Linked DNA regions of Homo sapiens: regions 2, 3, 4, 5, 6 and 7 are each linked to region 1. Evidence: promoter capture Hi-C in 16 types of primary human blood cells and fetal thymus (Javierre and others, 2016). All regions are on one chromosome and are shown on one strand. The core of a region is centred on a gene start or on the middle of the fragment in contact, and the rest is flanking DNA. Distances in the headings are between cores, read along the strand shown. Region 1 holds the start of RIMOC1 (RAB7A interacting MON1-CCZ1 complex subunit 1). Region 2 overlaps CCL28 (C-C motif chemokine ligand 28). Region 3 overlaps TMEM267 (transmembrane protein 267). Region 4 has its middle 5.1 kb from the start of HMGCS1. Region 5 overlaps ANXA2R-OT1 (ANXA2R overlapping transcript 1). Region 6 overlaps LOC100506639 (a long non-coding RNA gene). Region 7 overlaps ZNF131 (zinc finger protein 131).

Region 1 (2,914 bases), core at 408-2,907:
CTGTGCCTTTGTCTGTTGCCCACATGTCCAGGTAATTCTTTTAAGTAGTTTAAGAATGGTAAATTACACATTTTCTAGGAGACTGAAAATTCCTAATCAAAGGTTAATTATTTTTTGAAAATTATTTTTTGAAAAGTTTAGTAAAATCTTCTGAAGGCTTCATTTAGTTCTACATCTTGTAGAAGATTCAGAAGGCATCAGGTGTAACCTTCTGCTCTTTTCTCTATCCATTGCTGGCTCCCTACTTTCATTTTGAATTTATCCCTATTTCCCTATTTTTCCCCCTTTGTGTACAGATACGATCATTCTCCACCCTACCTTCCAGCACTTGCCCCTCTTCAACTACCACCTTCTCCATCCCTTGTTGAGAAAGCCTTCTCTCAACTTCTTGTTTATACTTAGATTCTTTTTTTCCTCACCTACAATTCCCACACTATTGAATAATTGTCTACTCCCACAGACCACATCATATCCCCTTGCCATCTTGCTTGTTGACAAGAGTGCATATGTGCCAGGCACTGTATGAGGCACCAAGGACACAAAATACATGATTCCTGTCCTCTATATTTAGGGTGAATTGTCAGAAGAAACTGGTATTACAAAGGTCAGTTAGAGAGTCATTGTGGTCAATCACTTATAAATCACAATACACTTTTTCTCTATTTTTAGTATTTTTCTATTACATATAAAAAACTACCTTCCATGAGAAACAATAGGATGGAGATTATTCAAGATATAGTGTGTCAAACTGAGAAATGAATACACAGAGTTAACGATTTGTTTGACCAGAGGCAAGAAAGCATTCACAGAATGCAAAGTGAAGTTAGACTTGCTGACTGAGTGCTTTGAAACTCCCGATTGAGAGGATGAACCTCATGCACAATTAGCGCCTTAAGGGAAGGTCTTGAGATGAAAGAAAAATGAAAATAGTTTTGTGGCCGCAGAATTTACTACCACTGGACGCAAGATGTCTAAAGTACTTTAAATGTGAACTCCAAGGGAGGTCAGAGATAAATTCGACTGCTAAAAATCAGATTTACAAAAGCAATATTCAACCATGTAGACTGGCAACTCCACTAGTGTTTGGAGCTCCCCATCCAGATGTACAACAAACTCTTGGAGACTTGGATGTGTTACACAGGGGGCCGGTCGGGTTTCCATTTAGGACCAGGAGATTATAATCACTTTATTTTAGCAACCTCCTTACTACAAGGCCAAAACTGACAGTCCTCTCTCCAGACCCTCGCGTCCGCCCTCCAGACTGTGCTTCCCGCGCCGGACAGGGAAGTGGGAGTGCGGACGACAATCCGCATCCTGCCAGCCAGACGTCACCAAGCTGTCTTCCAAGAGGCAGGCGGAGAGAGCTGACTTCCGATTGGGTCAGCCGAGGGGCACGGCTGGCTCCCTATTGGCTTACAGGAGGGGGCTAGAGAGAGGCGTGTCTCAACGTCACACCCGCCCCTAGTCTCCTTGCTGCTCAGGATTATGGGAGGGAAGGGAAGTCCAGGAGGGAAAAATGACCCGGAAAGACCTTTGCCGGCCTGGGCCAGCCCTCTTCCGGAGCTGATGTCTCCTCCCACCAACCAGGAGAGGTCCGCCCTAGGCCCCGCCCGTGCCGGGGGATCAGGTGATTGCGGGCCAACACGGTCACGTGACCGGGGCGCACCCGCCGATTGTGGCCATGGCGGCCGCAGTCTCTAGTGTGGTGAGACGAGTGGAAGAGCTCGGGGATCTGGCTCAGGCCCACATACAGCAACTTAGCGAAGCTGCCGGTGAAGATGGTGAGGGAGCGGAGGAGAGGGAGGCGGGCGGGGCAGACGGCGCTAAGGTACTGGCGCTCGATGGCTGTGAGGGCTAGAGGCTGAGGCCTGTGTTCCTTTGGGTCCCAGGCCGCAGGTGGTTACCCGAGGTCTGTCGCTTCTGAGCCCCTCTGCGCCATCGATTGCCCACTTCCCAGAACTCACAATGCCAAGGCGTTGTCTTCGAAAACCGCATTATTCAGAACCCATGGAAAATCTGTCTAGATCCGTGCTGGTGTAAACTGTCTCGGTAGCGATTGGAAGAAGGGCAGAATCTAAATAAAATACAGAAGTTTAAATAAATGGCTAAGATGAATGATAACACTCAAATTAGTTATGGTGGTTTGCATCCTGTAAAGATAAAAAGACATGTATAACAGTTCCACTTTTTCATTGCTGCGTTGTAATTTGCGTTTTACGTTTTGGATTCAAAACAACATTCTATAGAAGAGCTTTACATTGGTGTGTAGACTATTCTGCCCCATACATCATGCCAGTTCTCACAAGGGCTCTGTTAAGTATTGGCATACTTGTTTTGGAAAGGTCTAAGCTGTTAGGAAAAACTGGGCTAGGGAATTGCCTCAACCTTCTGAATTTAAGTCCAATTCTTTTCATTACGTCTCAGCTGCCTTTAGGTTCTACATTATTCCTTTTTGAGTTTGAGCAATTACTACAGATAGTTTTTAAAATTCTGTGGACTGACTCATATCATCGGACTCATAGGAAAACAGTGGTGGAACATTTTCTTAAGCGATTGAATAGTTGGTGAATTTGTTATTAAATAGGGTCTATGATGAAATGCCTTAGTTTCAGTGAATATTTTTTGCCAGATTATCATTTATCAGGAGTGTTTTGTTTTGTTTTGTTTTTAGAGGCAGAGTATCATTCTGTTGCTCAGGCTGGAGCCCCTCTAGTAGTGGGACAACAGGCGCACACCATCTCGCCCGGCTAACTTTGGCATATTTTGTAGAAACGGGGTTCACCATGTCATCCAGGTTGGTCCTGAACTCCTGGGCTCAAGCATTCCACCCGCTTTGGCTTCCCAAAGTGCTGGGATTACAGGCGTGAGCCACTGTGCCAGGCCAGGAGTGTGTTCTTTAAAGACCTACAGACCA
Region 2 (2,825 bases), core at 11-2,510, 1.5 Mb after region 1:
TTATGTTCAAAGGGTTATGGGATTATACATGAAAGAAGCCAGATTCGAAAGGCCATACTGTATGATTCCCTTTATATGAAAGATCCAGAATGGGCAAATCCATAAAGACAGAAAGTAGATTAGTGGTTGCCAGGGGCTGGGGGGCTAAGGGATGGAGAGGGACGAGTGAAAGGAGGGGACACGGAGTGACTGTGAACAGGTACAAGATCTCTTTTTGGAGTGATGAAAATGTGCTGGAATTAGATATTGGTGATCACACAATTCTGTGAATATATTGAAGACCACTGAATTTTATACTTTAAAATGGAGAATTTTATGGTTTGTGAATACTGGTTGTTCCTACATTTATTAATGCATTTATTTCCTAAAACTGTTTCTTTCTTTAGCTATGCTGTGCTGCCTAAGTCAAACTCTTAATATCCTGAACAAGGTATTGGATTTATCACGTATCCACCCATTCATCCACCCATCTCACTATACGTGAATCACTACGCTAGACCCTGAAGGTAGAAAGATGAAGCGTTACTAGCCTCAAAGATTAGCTGTGGCCCAAGCAACTCTAATAGGAAACATACTTTCAGAAGCATGGTAGCAATTAAGAATCACAAGAAAATCTGTGTGTTTAGGAATTTGAGTTATCTGAGTGCTGATATCAATTCAAACAGTCTTAAGCCAGAAGAGTACCGGGGGCCTATATATACTTAGTAAACTGGATTGCATTTCTCAAATATTAATATAAACGTAGGATGGGCTCAGCTGGAGATCACTTGATCTAAGTCACATTAACTATAAAAAGGCAAGAAGCAGGCCAGCATTTATTACATGTTAGTAGGTGCAACTAGTGCCCTCCAGAGGAAGCAGAAAATATAAGAGGCCAGGAAACAACTTTGGAGAGAACATGGGAAGTTAGGCAATGGAGAATGTAAACTGGGTAGTTCCGAATAGGGCAACTGTAAAATTCTGTTAGATAACATCGCCCCCTAGAGGTTCCCTCCTGCAGCCTCCTGTCAGAATAGTTCCATTTTTAAAAAGCCATCAGCTACTTCCCTTTATTTCAATTATGACTCCAGAATTTCTATATAGGAGAGATTTTGGTGTGTCAATTAGGCTGAAAAAGATGATTATGTGACATTTCTTCAGCATTTACATAGTTTTGTTCAGATGATACTGAACAATGGTTGTTGGAGAGGTTGTTGGGGAGGCAAGCTGATAAGAGGTCGGGGAGGCCAAAACCTGTTTGCAAAGACCACCTTGGTCAGGTATATAATGGAAAATAACCAGCTTATGTTCCAGAATTGGAGTTCACACAAACACAAACCTGTATGATGGAGAAGGGGTTCCCCTGAAGAGAAATATGTGACTATTACTGAAAATAAGAGAAGTCTTGCAGAGTGGGCTTAATAAAGCAGCGGAGTCCAGAGGTATGAATGAGCAAGGATCTGAGGTATAATGCAAGACTTTGCCTGATCCACCCCCAACTGCCTCCCTAACCCCTCCTAGAGGTGCTCCCTTTGCTTTGGGAAGGGCAAAGCCCAACAGATCCATCTGGGAATTTCTCTGAAAAGTGATTTGTGAGATCAGCAGATGCGTTTCCCAGCTGGCCTGAGAAGCAGGCACTGAGGTCAGCTCTCTGGAGAAGTGGGCAACCACCAGTGGGTTTCAAATGGATCCAGAGCAGCTGCCCAACAGAGGAACCACAAAACTGGGAGTAAGGGTTCTGATTATGCAAGGGATCATCCCTCCTACACTATCAGGTCAACTTCCCCCAGACTCTTAGAGGGAAAGTACCCTTCTCCAGGACCCACTATTTGAGAATTGTCAAGAATATTTGGATTGAGAAATCCTGCAGCAACTTTGTAATTACTGCCAGGCAAGAAAGTGGGGACCCAGAACATCACAATTTCTACTCACCAACCAGTGAAGCCCAGAGTATAGGAGTTCCATGGGTAGCATCTGATGTGTCTATGCAGTGAATTGAAATCAGTATTTAAATCATATTTGAATCAGTTTGCTCTGGCATTTTTGAGATTGTATCAACTTTTGCTCCATTAAAAATAATGGTGTGCTTCTGTAGAGTGTGTGTGAAAGAAAGTAGGGGGAAAACATTTCTAACATAAGAGAAAATGTGGCAAGGGCTATGTGATAAACAGAATGGTATCTGGAACACTGAAAGGCAGAAGCGATAAATTATAGAGACTTGGGTCCATCTTTATCAAGGTGGTGGCATTTGAGCTGAAAATGTGAAAAATGGATAGAATATGAATAGGGCAGTAAATATAGAGGAGACAGTGGGTGTAAAGATACAAATGTGGAAAAAGGCAGATTCATGCAAATTTGGTTGGAATATAGAATTTATGAATGTAAGTTGTAGGAGGATGACATGAAAAGTATTTTGAGGCCAGACAGCTTTATATTTTATACCAATAACACGAGTTCAGTAACCTCTTTCTATGGAAACTTTAAAAATCAAGACATGACAATTCACCTAAACTAATACTTCTGTGGAAATGTAGATGTGAATAAATAAATGATGACTTAACTACTATTCCCCTTTCCTTGTGAAACATTTCAACACAGAGGAACTACCAAGAATAATAAAAACACCTATATACTCATCACCCAAATGTTATTAATGTTAAGTCTTTTCCATATTTGCCTTCAGTCTTATTTTTAAGTAACTGTTTCCAGTACTTTACTGTTACAAGCAAGGCTACAACAAACATCCTAATGATAACAGACATTGTTTGAGTTCTTACTGTGTGCCAGGCACTAGTGTAACTGCCATGTGTGAATTAATTTAAATAATCTACACAGCAACTATATGC
Region 3 (3,048 bases), core at 330-2,829, 1.6 Mb after region 1:
GCGTGCACCTGTAATCCCAGCTACTCAGGAGGCTGAGGCAGGAGAATCACTCGAACCCAGGAGGCGGAGGTTGCAGCAAGACGAGATCACGCCACTGCACTCCAGCCTGGACTACAGAGCGAGACTCCGTGTCACAAAAAAAAAAAAAAAAAAAAAATAGAAAGAATGAGTAAGACCTAGTACTTGATAGCACAACAGGGTAACTACAGTGAATAATAACTTAATTGTACATTCAACATAGTTCTGGCCAGGGCAATCAGGCAAGAGAAAGAAATAAAGGGTATTCAATTAGGGAAAGAGGAAGTCAAATTGTCTCTGTTTGCAGATGACATGATTGTATAATTAGAAAACCCCATCGTCTCAGCCCAAAATCTCCTTAAGCTGATAAGCAACTTCAGCAAAGTCTCAGGATACAAAATCAATGCGCAAAAATCACAAGCATTCCTATACACCAATAACAGACAAACAGAGAGCCAAATCATGAGTGAACTCCCATTCACAATTGCTACAAGGAGAATAAAATACCTAGGAATACAACTTACAAGGGATATGAAGGACCTCTTCAAGGAGAGCTACAAACCACTCACTGATCAAGGAAATAAGAGAGGACACAAACAAATGGAAAAACATTCCATGCTCATGGATAGGAAGAATGAATATCATGAAAATGGCCATACTGCCCAAAGTAATTTACAGATTCAATGCTATCCTCATCAAGCTACCATTGACTTCCTTCACAAAATTGGAAAAAACAACTTTAAATTTCACATGGAACCAAAAAACAGCATGCATAAATAGCCAAGACAATCCTAAGCAAAAGGAACAAAGGTGGAGGCATCACGTGACCTGACTTCAATCTATACTACAAGGCTACAGTAACAAAAACAGCATGGTACTGGTACCAAAACAGATATATAGATCAATGGAACAGAACAGAGGCCTGAGAAATAACACCACACATCTACAACCATCTGATCTTTGACAAATCTGACAAAAAAAAGCAATGGGGAAAGGAATTCCTAGTTAATAAATGGTGTTGGGAAAACTGGCTAGCCATATGCAGAAAGCTGAAACTGGATCCCTTCCTTACACCTTATACAAAAATTAACTCAAGATGGATTAAAGACTTAAACGTAAGACCTAAAACCATAAAAACCCAAGAAGAAAACCTAGGCAATTTAGGACACAGGCATGGGCAAAGACTTCGTCTTTTGTTACCAAAAGCAATGGCAACAAAAGCCAAAATAGACAAATGAGATCTAATTAAACGAAAGAGCTTCTACACAGCAAAAGAAACGATCATCAGAGCGAACAGGCCACCTACAGACTGGGAGAAAATTTTTTGCAATCTATCCAACTGAAAAAGGGCTAATATCCAGAATCTACAGAGAAACCAATTTACAAGAAAAAAGCAAACAACCCCATCAAAAAGTGGGTGAAGGATATGAACAGACACTTCTCAAAAGAAGACATTTGCCAGGCGTGGTGCTCACGCCTGTAATCCCAGCACTTTGGGAGGCTGAGGCAGGTGGATCACCTGAGGTCGGGAGTTCGAGACCAGCCTGACCAACACGGAGAAATCCCATCTCTACTAAAAATACAAAATTAGCCAAGCGTGGTGGTGCATGCTTGTAATCCCGGCTACTCGGGAGGATGAGGCAGGAGAATTGCTTGAATCCAGCAGGCAGAGGTTGTGGTGAGCCAAGATCACGCCATTGCACTCCAGCCCGGGCAACAAGAGCAAAACTCTGTCTCAAAAAAAAAAAAAAAAAAAATGAAAAAAGGCTCATCATCACTGGTCATTAGAGATATGCAAATCAAAACCACATCTCACGCCAGTTAGAATGGCGATCATTAAAAAGTCAGGAAACAACAGATGCTGGAGAGGATGTGGAGAAATAGGAACGCTTTTACACTGTTGGTGGGAGTGTAAATTAGTTCAACCAATGTGGAAGACAGTGTGGCGATTCCTCAAGGATCTAGAACTAGAAATACCATTTGATCCAGCAATCCCATTCCTGGGTATATACCCAAAGGGTTATAAATCATTCTACTATAAAGACTCATGCACACGTATGTTTATTGTGGCACTGTTTACAATAGCAAAGGCTTGGAACGAAATGCCCATCAGTGATAGACTGGATAAAGAAAATGTGGCACATATACACCACAGAATACTATGCAACCATAAAAAAGAATGAACTCATGTCCTTTGCAGGGACATGGATGAAGCTGGAAACCATCATTCTCAGCAAACTAACAGAACAGAAAACCAAACACCGCATGTTCTCACTCATAAGTGGAAGTTGAACAATGAGAACACATGGACACAGAGAGGGTACACAGGGAGGGGAATACCAGGGCCTATAGGTGGGTGGGGGGCTAGGGGAGGGATAGCATTAGGAGAAATACCTAATGTAGATGACAGGTTGATGGGTGCAGCAAACCACCATGGCACGTGTATACCTATGCAACAAACCTGCACATTCTGCACATGTACCCCAGAACTTAAAGTATAATTTAAAAAAAAGTCAGAAACAGTATAGCTATTATAACATCGTTTTGGCGGTTTTAATCAATGTAATGAGGAAAAAGAATAAAGGCAGGAGAGGGAGGGAAGAAAATGTATCATTACATTATCAGGAAGGAAAAGATAATTACATTAGTTTGCAGGTGAAATGACTGCCTACCCAAGAGAACCAACAGAAAACTGTTGGAATTTAAGTTGAAAAATGTGGTTAGTTCAAGGTATGAACTAAAACAATTTTTCAATATAATAGCAATAATCATAAGATGGGAAAATGAACATTCACAACAGCAACTCAAAATGCCAAGAATTAAAATAGCAAGAATGAAACAACAAAACTCTATTAAAAGATGAAAAAGATCAGTTAACTAGAGCTCTAATGGCTTTGTACTGTATCAACTCAGCTAACTCGGACTTAAAAACATTTCCCAGAATTCCCTTCCTTATATAGTTCTGGGTACTGTTGGCTATAGGAGACATTATATGGAACTCACAAATGAAGCAAGTCATATTTTTTACAC
Region 4 (2,980 bases), core at 93-2,592, 1.4 Mb after region 1:
TACCATCGCTATCTTGGCCTTGTCGGTAGATGGAGGAGGAACAATGGTTCCGTTGTGAGAGGTTTTGGAAAAAGGCTTAAAGGCAGGTGCAGGTGGCAGGGGATCAAAGAAATGCATTTCAAGGATCCAATAGGGTCTGTCCCTGACATCTAGCCCACATGCCATAAAATCGGCTTAAAGAAGGGAACTGGCTTAGAAAAGGGGAAGAACTTTGGGGGCTCAAGATAATAACCTATATAGGATTGCACTGGTTTAGCTGACAGTTATTGGGGGCTGTCCGTTTAGTAAAATGAATGTGTGGTTTTAGGAAATTACAAAAACTGGTCAGGGCAGTCCATCCTTGCTCTTTGGTGGTCCACAGAACGTTGGACCAACTACAGCATAAAAGCTCTGTGTCGGTGGGGGCAAGACTCCTGGTTGCCACTGGGGTCTTTATCAAAATCTCCCCGAATTAAATGGTCCCAATTCACTAATGCCCAGTATGAGGAGAGCCAGGAGGGACAGAGGTACTTTTCTGAAGTAGAGAGCTGCCTTTGACTTTACAAATCCCCACACAGTATAACAAGGCAAGCATCAAATGCAATAGTTTGAGGCGAAATTGACTTGGTTATGTTAATAACTAGATGATCAGCGATAGAACGAGGAAAGAAGAAAGTTAATAGAATAGATGAAAGAGAGTTAAATTCTTCTTAGCTTTAGTTTGGTAGGGTTTTCCCCTGGGACTATGGCCACTACTCTGGAGGGGGTGGCACTTTCTTGACCCGGGTGTGGTAAGTCCATCCTCTCTCTGCTGTGCGGACTGCAGTTTCAGTAGTTAGGAGCACTAAGTAAGGACCTTCCCAGACTGGCTCAAGCATCTCCTCTTTCCAGCTCTTGATGAGGACGTGATCCCCAGGCTGATGTTGATGCACCGGGAACTCCAAGGGCGGCACCTGTGCTAATAGACCTTTAGTTTTAAGAGAAGAGAAAGTAGAAGCTAGACCAAGCATATAATTTTTAAGGAATTGATCTTTTGTTTCAAAGGTAGGAATATCAGCAGTAGAGTGCAAATAAGGTAATCCATAGAACATCTCATAAGGAGAAAGACCAATGTCTTTCCGTGGTGCAGTTCAAATTCTCAGCAGGGCAATAGGAAGACACTTGGTCCATGGCAATCGAGTCTCTAAGACTAATTTGGTTAAGTGGTTCTTTAGAGTCTGATTCATTCTTTCTACTCTCCCTAATGAGGATGGGTGTCAGGGAGTATGGTATTCCCATCTAATATCTAATGTTTGGGATAGCTTTTTAATAATGTGTGTGGTGAAATGAGTTCCATTGTCTGAGTCAATATTTTCTATTAGTCCAAACCTGGGTACTATATTTTCAATTAGGGCCTTAACTGCATTATTGGCTGTTGCATTTGAAAAGGGAATAACTTCGACCTGGTGAGTGAGGTGGTCTACTATCACTAGTAAATATTTCAGACGACCTGTTGGAGGCATTTCTTTGTAATCAACTTGGATACTTTCGAATGGCTTTAAGCCTGGATTCCTTCCCCCGAGTGGTAATATTTTTGTAGTATGTCTATTAGTTTTCTTACATACTAAGCAACTATCTGTAACCTGTTTGGCCAGGGTATAAATTCCTATACAACCATAAACTCTGAGAATGGCATCACATGTGGCCTGGGGCCCCCAGTGGGTCCCCTGATGTAGTTGGGATAAGACTTCCCTCATAAGGGGTTTAGATAACGTTTCTCTCTGGTCTGGCAGTATCCACTTTCCTTCTGAATTCTCTTTAGCACCTATTTTTATTACTTTCTCTTTTTTGGTGGAAGAGAAAATGGGGATTATGGTAGGAGGAGGGAGGTAGGGAGTTAAGTGAAAAATACACATTCAAAAGACACAGCAGCCTGCTTGTCTACCTGATCTGCTAGGTTATTTCCTCGACTTTCAAAAGAAAGAATTTTCTGGTGTCTGGGAACATGGACAATAGCTATTTCTTCTGGCAACCGAAAATTATTCAATACTTGGGTGATCAGCTCCTTGTGAACAAGGTCTTGACCTTTACTATTGATGAGACCTAGTTCAGTCCAAATTTTCCAAAACATATGGGTCACTCCAAAGGCATACCTGGAATCTGTATAGATGGTTCCTTCCTGGTTCTGTAAGTACTTTAAGGCTTGGCTGAGTGCAAGCAGCTCACACGTTTGAGCAGACGAACTGTTGGGCAATTTTCCTGATTCTATTTCTATGAGAGTTTCTCCATCAATCACTGAATACCTACTGTGTCTTTTTCCCTCAATCACCCCGGAAGAACCATCTATGAATAAGTGCCATCCAGTCCAGAAGGGGGTTTCTTCTAGGTCTGGTTGAACCTTTGTATGGTAATCAATTAAATCTAAACATGTGTGTTCCCCCCTTAGATGTGGATTCCTTGTTAAGAAACCTGCTGGGTTGAGTGAATTATCAGTAGTCAATGTTAAATCATCCTTTTCTAACAGAATGGCCTCATGCTTTAAGATTCTTTATTCAGTAGGCCATCTCCCTGCTCTCTGGTAGTTCTAACTCGGTGAGGCGTGCTTACTGTCAATTTTCCTCCAAAGGTTAACTTTCTGCTTTCCCCGACTAGTATTGCCATAGCCACGATGGACTGGATGCATTGAGGCCATCCACGAGTGACTGGGTCTAAGACCTTTGATAGGAAGGCTACGGGCTGCCGGTGGCATCTGTGTTCTTGAGTCAGCACTCCTAAAGCTACCCCACTGTACACATTAACAAAAAGGTGGAATGGCTTTTCTAGGGAGGGTAAGGCTAAAACAGGCAGTTATGAGCCTTTCTTTCCTTCAGCTTCTCGACTTGATCAACTTCCTCAGAAGTCCACAGGAGACGGTTAGGCTTCTCCTGGGCAAGTTTTTGATATAACAGTTTACTGTGCAGTGCTTAATAAGTGGCAGTATCTGACTAACCCTAAAATTTTCCTGAGTTCTTGTTTGTTTGAG
Region 5 (2,770 bases), core at 93-2,592, 1.1 Mb after region 1:
GAGTTGTAATTCTTTATTTTTTAAATTATTTTTATTTTGTTCACTTATTTATTTATTTTTGAGACAGAATCTTGCTCTGTCACCCAGGCTGGAATGCAGTGGCACGATCTCAGTTCACTGTAACCTCTGCTTCCGAGGTTCAAGCCATTCTTGTGCCTCAGCCTCCAGAGTAGCTGGGACCACTGGCTCCTGCCACAACACCCGGGTAATTTTTGTATTTTTAGAAGAAACGGGGTTTCACCATGTTGGCCAGGCTAGCCTTGAACTCCTGATCTCATGTGATCCACCCACCTCGGCCTCCCAAAGTGCCAGGATTACAGGCATGAGCCACCATGCCAAGCCAAGTTGTAATTTTTTGAAACCTATTTTTTGATTGTATTTGTTTTTTTCATAGCTCAATACACTGAAATGGTTGGGTAAGTGGGAAAATCATCTTCCCCACTCCTCCAGTATCTGTAAGGTGCAATTTCTCATAAACACTTTCAGCTTCTTGCCTCCCCTTTTAGTTCTTCTCACATATTGTGTGGTTTGTGGCATGAAAATCATTATTTGTGACAGACACCATACCAACTATATTTTGTGCTTTATCTTGTTTCATTCTCAACCGAAAAATGTGGTGAGCACATGCTTTGTGCTGGGCTTTCTTCTTAGTTCTCTCCATTTTGTAGATGCACAGCCTCACTTAGGGAAGTTGGAGTGCATATAGCTCTGTCTGTGGCTGAATAGATAAATGTAATTTTAGCATTCAATGTTAAGAAATCAACTCTTGGTGCAAATTTAAGGCTCATCTTCTAATGTAGTGTGTGTGTGTGTGTGTGTGTGTGTGTGTGTGTGTGTGATTTTACTGTGTCCCTTCTCCCTAACACTCCAGTTCAAGATAGCAACCTAAGTTCTGAGTTGATTATTCTGGACACACTCTCTCAAAATTTGACTGTTGGACACCAGAATACACCACCCCAATATACCAATATACCTCTGGCATATTGATTATTTCAGGCCTAGCATGGTAGCTCACACCTGTAATCCTAGTGCTTCGGGAGCCCAGGAGTTCATCAGCAGGCTGGGCACATAAGGGGTCCCATCTCTACAAAAGTATTTTTTAAAAATTAGCTGGGTGTGGTGGCATGAGCCTATAGTCCTGGTTACTAGGGAAGCCAAGGCAGGAGGATGGCTTGAATCCAGAAGTTTAAAGTTACAGAGAACTATAATCATGCCACTGCATTTCAGCCTGGGTGAAAGAGTAAGACCCTGTCTCTAAAACAAAAACAAAATAGGGCTGGGAACTGGTGGCTCACGCCTGTAATCCCAGCACGTTGGGAGGCCGAAGTGGGCAGATCACCTGAAGCCAGGAGTTTGAGGCCTGGCCAACAGTCTCTACTAAAAATATAAAAATTAGCTGGGTGTGGTGGTGCATGCCTATAATCCCAGCTACACAGAGGTTGAGGCACGAGAATTGTTTCAACCCAGGAGGCAGAGGTTGCAGCGAGCCCAGATCATGCCACTGCACCCCACCCTGGGCGATAGCGCAAGAAGACTCTGTCTAAAAAAAAACAAAACAAATTAAAAAAAAAACAAAACGAGATGAGAGAAAACCTTCATCTGTACTGTACTGCTATACTCCTTACTCCTCTTTATGACAGAATACAGAAAGATAAAGACAAAGAAAAGACTATTCTGGGAGGAAAGGGGATGAAACAACATGATTCATACTACAAAGTACCAAAAAGTACACCAGAGTCGATACACCAGCACTAGTCACACAAATCCTTTTCTCCCATCAGTCAATATTTTGGACAGGAAAAATAGAGAGTGATTTTTACTGTCTACTTCACCAGATTCCACAGAGTGGGGCCTGGAATCTGGCTGGTAAAAATTCTTTATCCTTATGCTGGCTGATCAGCTCCTGGTTTCCCTCAACTGTGGGCTTCCAAAAGAGCCAAACTTTGGGTTCCTGCTCACAGCACCAAATTTTCAGGGGCCAAGGGAAATCTTTCTCTGCGCACTCTGAAAGTTTGCTCTAAAATGGACTCACAGAGGCAGATTAATAGGAGAAAACACATAGAAAATGTATGATTGCTCAGCCCCTCAGTGAGGTGCAGGAGGTTATATACCATCTTGAGGTTACACAAAAAAGTGCATCATGCCAAAACAGGTTATAGGAGAGAGAAAACTTGTAAGGGTTCAGACTCTGTTAATCCTTCCTAGATCCAGACAAGAGAAGGCCTGTATGAATCAATGCAGATTTTCTACAGATGCAAATTTTTCCCACAAACGAAAGCATTGCAGGACTACTTATTTTGCTGGTTCTCTGGCAGCCATCTGAAAATATTTCAAATAAATATATTTTGGGGTTAAACATTTTTATTTCTTTCAAGGTGGAATATTAACTATGTATGTCTCTTATAGATATAGTTTTAAATAAATAAGGGAATCCACTTTTTCTAATTTGTTAAGATATGTTTTGTTTTAAGAATGACAAGGGGTTAAATTTTTAAAAGATTTTCTGCATCTACTGATATTATCACATGGTTTACTTCCTTTTTAATGTTAATGTGTTGACTAATATTAACTGATTTTCAAGTGCTAAACCAATATTGAGTTCATGGAATAAATCCCACTGGATCATGATGTATTTTTTAAAACATATATTGCTGGATTCAATATGCTAATACATTATAATTTTTATCACCTGTGATCATGAGAGCTCTTGGCTAACCAAAAAATTGGGGGATTGACAAGAGTGATATACAAAATAGGCATATAAATATTC
Region 6 (3,057 bases), core at 250-2,749, 1.2 Mb after region 1:
CCAGGGCCCCATCAGTCTTCAGTGGCAAGGCCAGTGAGATCCGAGTAGGAGGTTTTGGCCAGCTCAGGAAGGGATGGGAGTGGTCCTTGTGGGGGCCGCTCACAGTCCAACTTCCAGTGGGGTCCTCTGCAGAGGGGGCATGGCCTGATGGGCTTACCTGGGTTTGGGCATTGTCTAGACCAGTGGCCTTCATTGCCATACTTGAAACATGCGCCAGGTGGAGGTGGATTGCTAGGAGGCTTCTGTGTGGAGCTGCGGCCCTGTGGGCCTGCAGGGCCCCGGATGGCGGAGTCAAGCATTTGAAACTCTGCATGTTTTTGCCTTTTATTTTCCTCATCACGATTGTTAAAGACTTTGAAGGCTAAATTAAGAAGGTCTCGTTGTGGGTTTTGAGAGCCATCATCAAGCTTCTGTAGCTTACGCCGAATATCGGGGTGGATTGGGACATGAACTAAAGGTTTAAAATAGTGGTTCCTTCTGGGCTGGTTGGGTCTAGGTTGGTATATTTTCTCATGACTTCAGTTAAACAAGAGAGAAAAAGGGCTGTTTTTTCGTCAGGATCTTGGGGGATTTCTGAAAGTTTTTCATAGTTTATCGCTTTATGGGCACCCTTTTTGAGTCCTGCAAGGAGACACAATTGTGGTCTCAATGGTAGCGTCCAGAGGCCCTGTCTTGATAATCCCAGTGGGGGTCCTGGTTGGGGACTGCCTGTGCGCCAGTAGGCTGGGCAGGAGCTTGGTGATAAATTGATCAGCATGCCCCTGAGCTAGGGTCCAGATATGGTCCCGGTCTTCTGGGGTGAGGGTGGAAGAGAGGATAACGTAGAGGATATGCCAGATTAGTTCATAAGACTGGGTAAGGTACTGAAACTCCCTAATATAAGAGGTCAGGTCTTCTGGAAATGAACCCAGTCTTTTGTTAATTTGAGAGAAATCAGTGAGGGAGAAGGGAACATGAACTCTAACAATACCTTCAGTTCCTGCTACTTCCTGAAGAGGGCACTCTAGCACAGGCACTAAAGTAAGGGTGGGGCATGGCCAAACATGGCACCTGAACAAGTGTGGATGGGAGAGAAGGAAGAACCTGGAAGTGGTTCCTGCTGAGTGTTTGAAGGGGAAAGGGGGATTGAGTTAACAGGTAGTGGAGGATAGATAGGGGCGTAAGGTGGTGGGATGGGTTTACAAGCCTCAGGAGAAGGCAGTAGGGGAGGAGAATGGGTACAGGCAATACTAGAATTGTCCTGAGGAGGGGGCGGTGTAGGAAAAGAAGCAGATACTGCTGACTGGGAAGATGGTGGCTGGGAAGATGGCGGTTGAGAAGACAACGAGGAGGCTTGGGCTAAAGAAGACGATTGAGAGGAAGAGGTAGGGGTTGGGAGGGGTGGACAGCAGTCTGCTGGATCTAACGAGGAAAAAGAGGTAGGGTTGGGAGGAGAAAGACAATCAGGGTGGCAAGAATGGAGGAGAAGGATTTGAACAGGTGAGCAAGAATTGCAGAGGTCGGGTTGTGATCTGAGTGCAAAAAGGCCTGGACATAAGGAATTTCTCCCCATTTCTCTAGTCGTTGTCAATAATTGCTTAACTCAGTTAAAACTGTAAAGTCGAATGTTCCATTTGCGGGCCATTTGGACCCATTATCCAATTCGTATTGTGGCCAGACTGAATTGCAAAAAAAGACAAGGCGCTTAGGGTGGATATTTTGCCTGAGGCCTAAGGTTTGCAGGTTTTTTATGGGGCAGCCTAGAGGGCTGTTTTTTGGAAGGGAGGACCGGGAGTTTCCCATAACAGAGGGTAGGCTCAGGAGAACAGGGAAAAAGGAGACCGTCCTGGACGGCCAGAGGGAGACAAAAGGAGCAATCATCATCACCGCTGCCTTTTTCATTCCTGGAACGGGATCAAATGGATTAGAGGCGTCTCCCTAAGACCAGGTGATGGGATGATCAGCGAGTACCTGGCACACGCCGGAGCCTTGCTGGACCGACATTGGATTTTTGGACCGTAGACACCAAGAGAGGCCATGTGGCTTTTCCCTTGTTAACTGGGCTCCTAGGGAAACTTACCAATAGGCAAGGCCAGTGACCAATGTGCATGCACAGAGAGGCAACTGGAGGCTGAGGAGCTTCCTTTGTCCTGCTGCTGTGGCCTGTTCTCCAGGGTGGAGGGGTAGGTCCATGGGGGATGTGGACCAGAGCCCCTCCCCGGTTTCGGCACTAGATGTAAGGTTCTTGTGTTGGTTCAAACCCTGAGAGCACGCCAAAAGACAACACGAAGTGGTGTGGAGCAGCAACATGCTGTTTTAATGAGCACGTGAGTGCAGGTGGGCTGAGGCCTAAAATGGCATCAGCCCCAAGTGAGGACGGTACAGGGGGTTTATAGTCCTCTGTAAACAGGAAGTGTCCCAGTCTAACATGACTGCTATGTAGTACGCGACGGCCTCTTTCTCGATCTTCAGGGGTACGTGTCTTCTGGCCAGGGAATGTGTCTTCCGGCTGGCTCTCTTCCTGCTTCTGCTATCTTGCTGACACACGCTGCTGGTGCAAGTGGCGTTGTGCCTTGGGACTGGGCCTGAGAAGGGGGGAGTTACTCATCCCTTCAAGCTTTGGGTCCCCGGGGAGAATCTTTCAAGTATGAACCTGGCCTTGTGAAAGCAGAGCTCCAGTTACACAGTGTATCCCGAATCCATGAATGTTATGATGGTGCTAATTTGAACCACTAAGAGGCCTTGTGAGAGTCTCTTCTTTCCCAGAAAATGTGGGGAACACAGAGAGTGTCTTTCTGGATAGACATACCCAAGAAACTTCTGCTGAGGAAAGTGAAAGCAAAGATACAACTTATCCCAGAAAGGGGAGTGCATATGTAGATGGTGATAAGTAATATAGCCTGAAATATTCACATGGATATAATTAGAGTTAGGGTTATAGTTAAGGAGGAAGGGAAGGGAGACAGAAAGAAAGCAAGTAAGAAAGGAAGCAAGAAAAGATAAAACTGTGTCCAAGTTTCTTACTTGTATTAAACAGAGTGTTTTTCTAGATATTGTTAACCAAGATAAGGAATCCCT
Region 7 (2,789 bases), core at 61-2,560, 1.2 Mb after region 1:
AATAGGCTTAACCTTTCACCTCCTTAGGTGAGAGACATGCAATACTGAGAACCATAAAACATTAAAGAAATTGGGCTGGGCACAGTGGCTCACGCCTGTAATCCCAGCACTTTGGGAGGCGGAGGCGGGTGGATTGCTTGAGGTCAGGAGTTCAAGACCAGCCTGAACAACATGGTGAAACCCTGTCTCTTCCGGAAAAAAATACAAAAATTAGCTGGTTATGGTGGCCCATTCCTGTAGTCCCAGCTATTCGGGAGGCTGAGGTTGCAGTGAGCATGGATTGCACCACTGCACTCGAGCCTGGGCGACAGAGCGAGACTCCGTCTCAAAAAAGAAAAAAGAAACTAAAGACACTCAATAGATCTTCATGGATTTGGAACACTCAGTATTGTTAAATTGTCCATACAGATTGAGCATCTCAAATTTGAAAATCTGAACTGCTTGCCAGGTGCAGTGGCTCACGCCTATAGTCCCAGCACTTTGGGAGGCCGAGGCGGGCATATCACAATTTCAGGAGTTCAAGACCAGCTGGCCAACGTAGTGAAACCCTGTCTCTACTAAAAATATAAAAATTAGGTGGGTATGGTGGTGCGTGCCTGTAGTCCCAGCTACTTGGGAGGCTGAGGAAGGAGAATCGCTTGAACCCGGGAGGTGGTGGTTGCGGTGAGCCGAGCCTCTGTACTCCAGCTCGGGCAACAGAGTGAGACTTGGTCTCGAAGAAGAAAAAATGAACTGCTATAAAATTTGAAACTTTCTGAGCATCAACATGACTCAACGGAAATGCTTGTTGGAGCATTTTGGATTTCGGATTTTCAGATTTGGGATGCTCAACCTGTGTCAAGTATAATGCAAATATTTCAAAATCCAAAACAGTTGTGATCCCAAGCTTTTCATATGAGGGATATTCAGCCTGTATTACAGAAAGTGGGCTACAGATTCAATACAGTCCCTCTCAAAATCCTGATGGAATTTTTTTTGTTTTATGGAAACAGGAAAAGCAGTTCTAAAATTCATATGGAACCACAGAAAATCATGGACTAGCCAAATCAATCTTGAAAAAGAACAAAGCTAGAGGCATCATACTTTTTTTTTTTTTTTTTTTTTTTTTTTTTTGAGGTAGTCTTACTGTGTTGCCCAGGCTGAAGTGCAGTGGTGTAATCTTGGCCCACTGCAGCCTTAGCCTCCCAAGTAGCTGGGATTACAGGTGCGTGCCACCACCCCCATCTAATTTTTTTCTTTTTTTCTTTTTTCTTTTTCTTTTTTTTTTTTTTTTAGTAGAGACGGAGTTTCACCATATCGACCAGGCTGATCTCGAACTCCTGACCTCAGGTGATCCACCAGCCTTGGCCTCCCAAGGTGCTGGGATTACAGGCATGAGCCACTGCACCCAGCTGACATGATACTTCTTGATATCAAAATATTTTACAGAGCTACAATAACCAAAACAGTATGGGACTAGCTTAAAGAGACATACAGACCAAAGGAGCAGAATAGAGAGCCCACAAATAAAAACATGCAAATAATATGGTCAACTGATCTTCAGGGATGCCAAGAATGCACAATAAGGAAGGAATGTTTTCTGCAACAAATGATGTTGGAAGAACTAGGTATTCACATGAAAAAAGATGAAATTGGACCCCTATCTTCTACCATAAAAAAGAAAAAAACTCAAAATGAATTGGAGACTTAGACATAAGACCAAAAAATGTAAATCTCCTGGAAGAAAACATGAGGGGAAGCTTCACCACATCATTCTTAGTAATTTCGTGGATGTGACGTCAAAAGCACAGCCAACAACAGAAAATAAGACAGGTGGGACTACATCAAACTAAAAAGCTTCTGTACAGCAAAGGAAACAACTGAGTGAAAAGGAAATCTAAGGAATGGGAGAAAGTATTTGCAGAACCAAATAAATGATAAGGAATGAATCCCAAAAATATATGAGAAACTCCCACAACTGATAGTAAAAAATATCTGCCCAATTAAAAACAGTCTAAATGATGCAGAAAAAAATTAAATTAAAAATGTTTTTTTAAATGTGCTAAGAACTTGAATAGACATTTCTCCAAACAGATGGCCAACAGATACATGAAAAAAAAGTTCAGTGTCACTAGGCATCAAGGAAATGCAAATCAAAACCACTATGAGGTATCAGTCACTTCACACCTTTCAGGATGGCTATCAAAAAAAAAAAGACAACTAGTATTGGTGAGGATATAAATAAATTGGAATCCTTGCACAATGTTGGCAGGAATAGGTGCAGCCATTATGGAAAACAGTATGAATGTTCCTTAAAAAATTAAAATACCATACAATTCAGCAATCCCACTTGCTGAACATTTATCCAAAAGAACTGAAATCAGGATCTTGAAGTTTTAGCACTCCTATGTTCATTGCAGCACTATTTACAGTAGCCACGAGAGGAAATAAATATTCGTCAACAGATTAATGGATAAAGAAAATGTAGTATATGTATCCAATGGAATACTATTCAGCTCTTAAGAACAAGGATATTCTGCATATGCAACCACATGGATGAACCTTGAGGACATTATGCTAAGTGAAGTAAGCCAGTCACAGACATAAACTGCATATTTCTATTTATATGAGGAATCTAAAATAGTCACTTCCACTCATATGAGCTATCTCAAATAGATTGAAAGAGTGGAATACGGGTTGCTAGGGGCTGGGAGGGAGGAGGAAATGGGCAGTTACTAATCAGTGGGCATAAAGTTTCAATTGCGCAAGATGAATAAACTGGAGGTCTGTACAACATTGTACCTAGAGTC

What was found. The method cuts DNA at HindIII sites, captures the fragments that hold promoters and counts their contacts. A CHiCAGO score of 5 or more calls a contact.
Region 2: a fragment that was not itself captured here is called in contact with the fragment with the promoter of RIMOC1 in region 1 in 1 of 17 cell types (neutrophils); the score reaches 8.3 in neutrophils.
Region 3: a fragment that was not itself captured here is called in contact with the fragment with the promoter of RIMOC1 in region 1 in 1 of 17 cell types (neutrophils); the score reaches 8.5 in neutrophils.
Region 4: a fragment that was not itself captured here is called in contact with the fragment with the promoter of RIMOC1 in region 1 in 1 of 17 cell types (neutrophils); the score reaches 9.5 in neutrophils.
Region 5: a fragment that was not itself captured here is called in contact with the fragment with the promoter of RIMOC1 in region 1 in 1 of 17 cell types (neutrophils); the score reaches 13.7 in neutrophils.
Region 6: a fragment that was not itself captured here is called in contact with the fragment with the promoter of RIMOC1 in region 1 in 1 of 17 cell types (naive CD8 T cells); the score reaches 5.4 in naive CD8 T cells.
Region 7: a contact is called between a fragment that was not itself captured here and the fragment with the promoter of RIMOC1 in region 1, in 2 of 17 cell types (neutrophils and naive CD8 T cells). The highest score is 5.8, in neutrophils.

Annotation. Positions count from the first base shown.
Region 1 is chr5:41,902,687-41,905,600 of GRCh38, forward strand. It overlaps RIMOC1 (RAB7A interacting MON1-CCZ1 complex subunit 1), which reads left to right and starts at 1,658. Exons shown (of 6, transcript NM_175921.6): 1 at 1,658-1,781. The coding sequence starts at 1,682. RefSeq lists enhancers at 1,091-1,230, 1,342-1,888, 1,641-1,760. The HindIII fragment of the contact is 10,560 bases long and covers 1-2,914 here.
Region 2 is chr5:43,388,972-43,391,796 of GRCh38, forward strand. The region is part of intron 1 of CCL28 (C-C motif chemokine ligand 28); the gene reads right to left. Among named protein-coding and RNA genes, the nearest start is that of CCL28, 22 kb to the right of the region's middle. The HindIII fragment of the contact is 5,574 bases long and covers 1-2,825 here.
Region 3 is chr5:43,473,005-43,476,052 of GRCh38, forward strand. All of the region lies in intron 1 of TMEM267 (transmembrane protein 267), which reads right to left. Among named protein-coding and RNA genes, the nearest start is that of TMEM267, 9.3 kb to the right of the region's middle. The HindIII fragment of the contact is 7,857 bases long and covers 1-3,048 here.
Region 4 is chr5:43,317,029-43,320,008 of GRCh38, forward strand. No RefSeq gene overlaps it. Among named protein-coding and RNA genes, the nearest start is that of HMGCS1, 5.1 kb to the left of the region's middle. The HindIII fragment of the contact is 3,484 bases long and covers 1-2,980 here.
Region 5 is chr5:43,046,100-43,048,869 of GRCh38, forward strand. The region is part of intron 2 of ANXA2R-OT1 (ANXA2R overlapping transcript 1); the gene reads right to left. Among named protein-coding and RNA genes, the nearest start is that of ANXA2R-AS1, 5.4 kb to the left of the region's middle. The HindIII fragment of the contact is 4,869 bases long and covers 1-2,770 here.
Region 6 is chr5:43,073,051-43,076,107 of GRCh38, forward strand. The region is part of intron 2 of LOC100506639 (a long non-coding RNA gene); the gene reads left to right. Among named protein-coding and RNA genes, the nearest start is that of ANXA2R-OT1, 7.1 kb to the left of the region's middle. RefSeq lists enhancers at 763-1,264, 837-1,131, 1,265-1,764. The HindIII fragment of the contact is 2,189 bases long and covers 406-2,594 here.
Region 7 is chr5:43,135,394-43,138,182 of GRCh38, forward strand. The region is part of intron 3 of ZNF131 (zinc finger protein 131); the gene reads left to right. Among named protein-coding and RNA genes, the nearest start is that of ZNF131, 16 kb to the left of the region's middle. The HindIII fragment of the contact is 853 bases long and covers 885-1,737 here.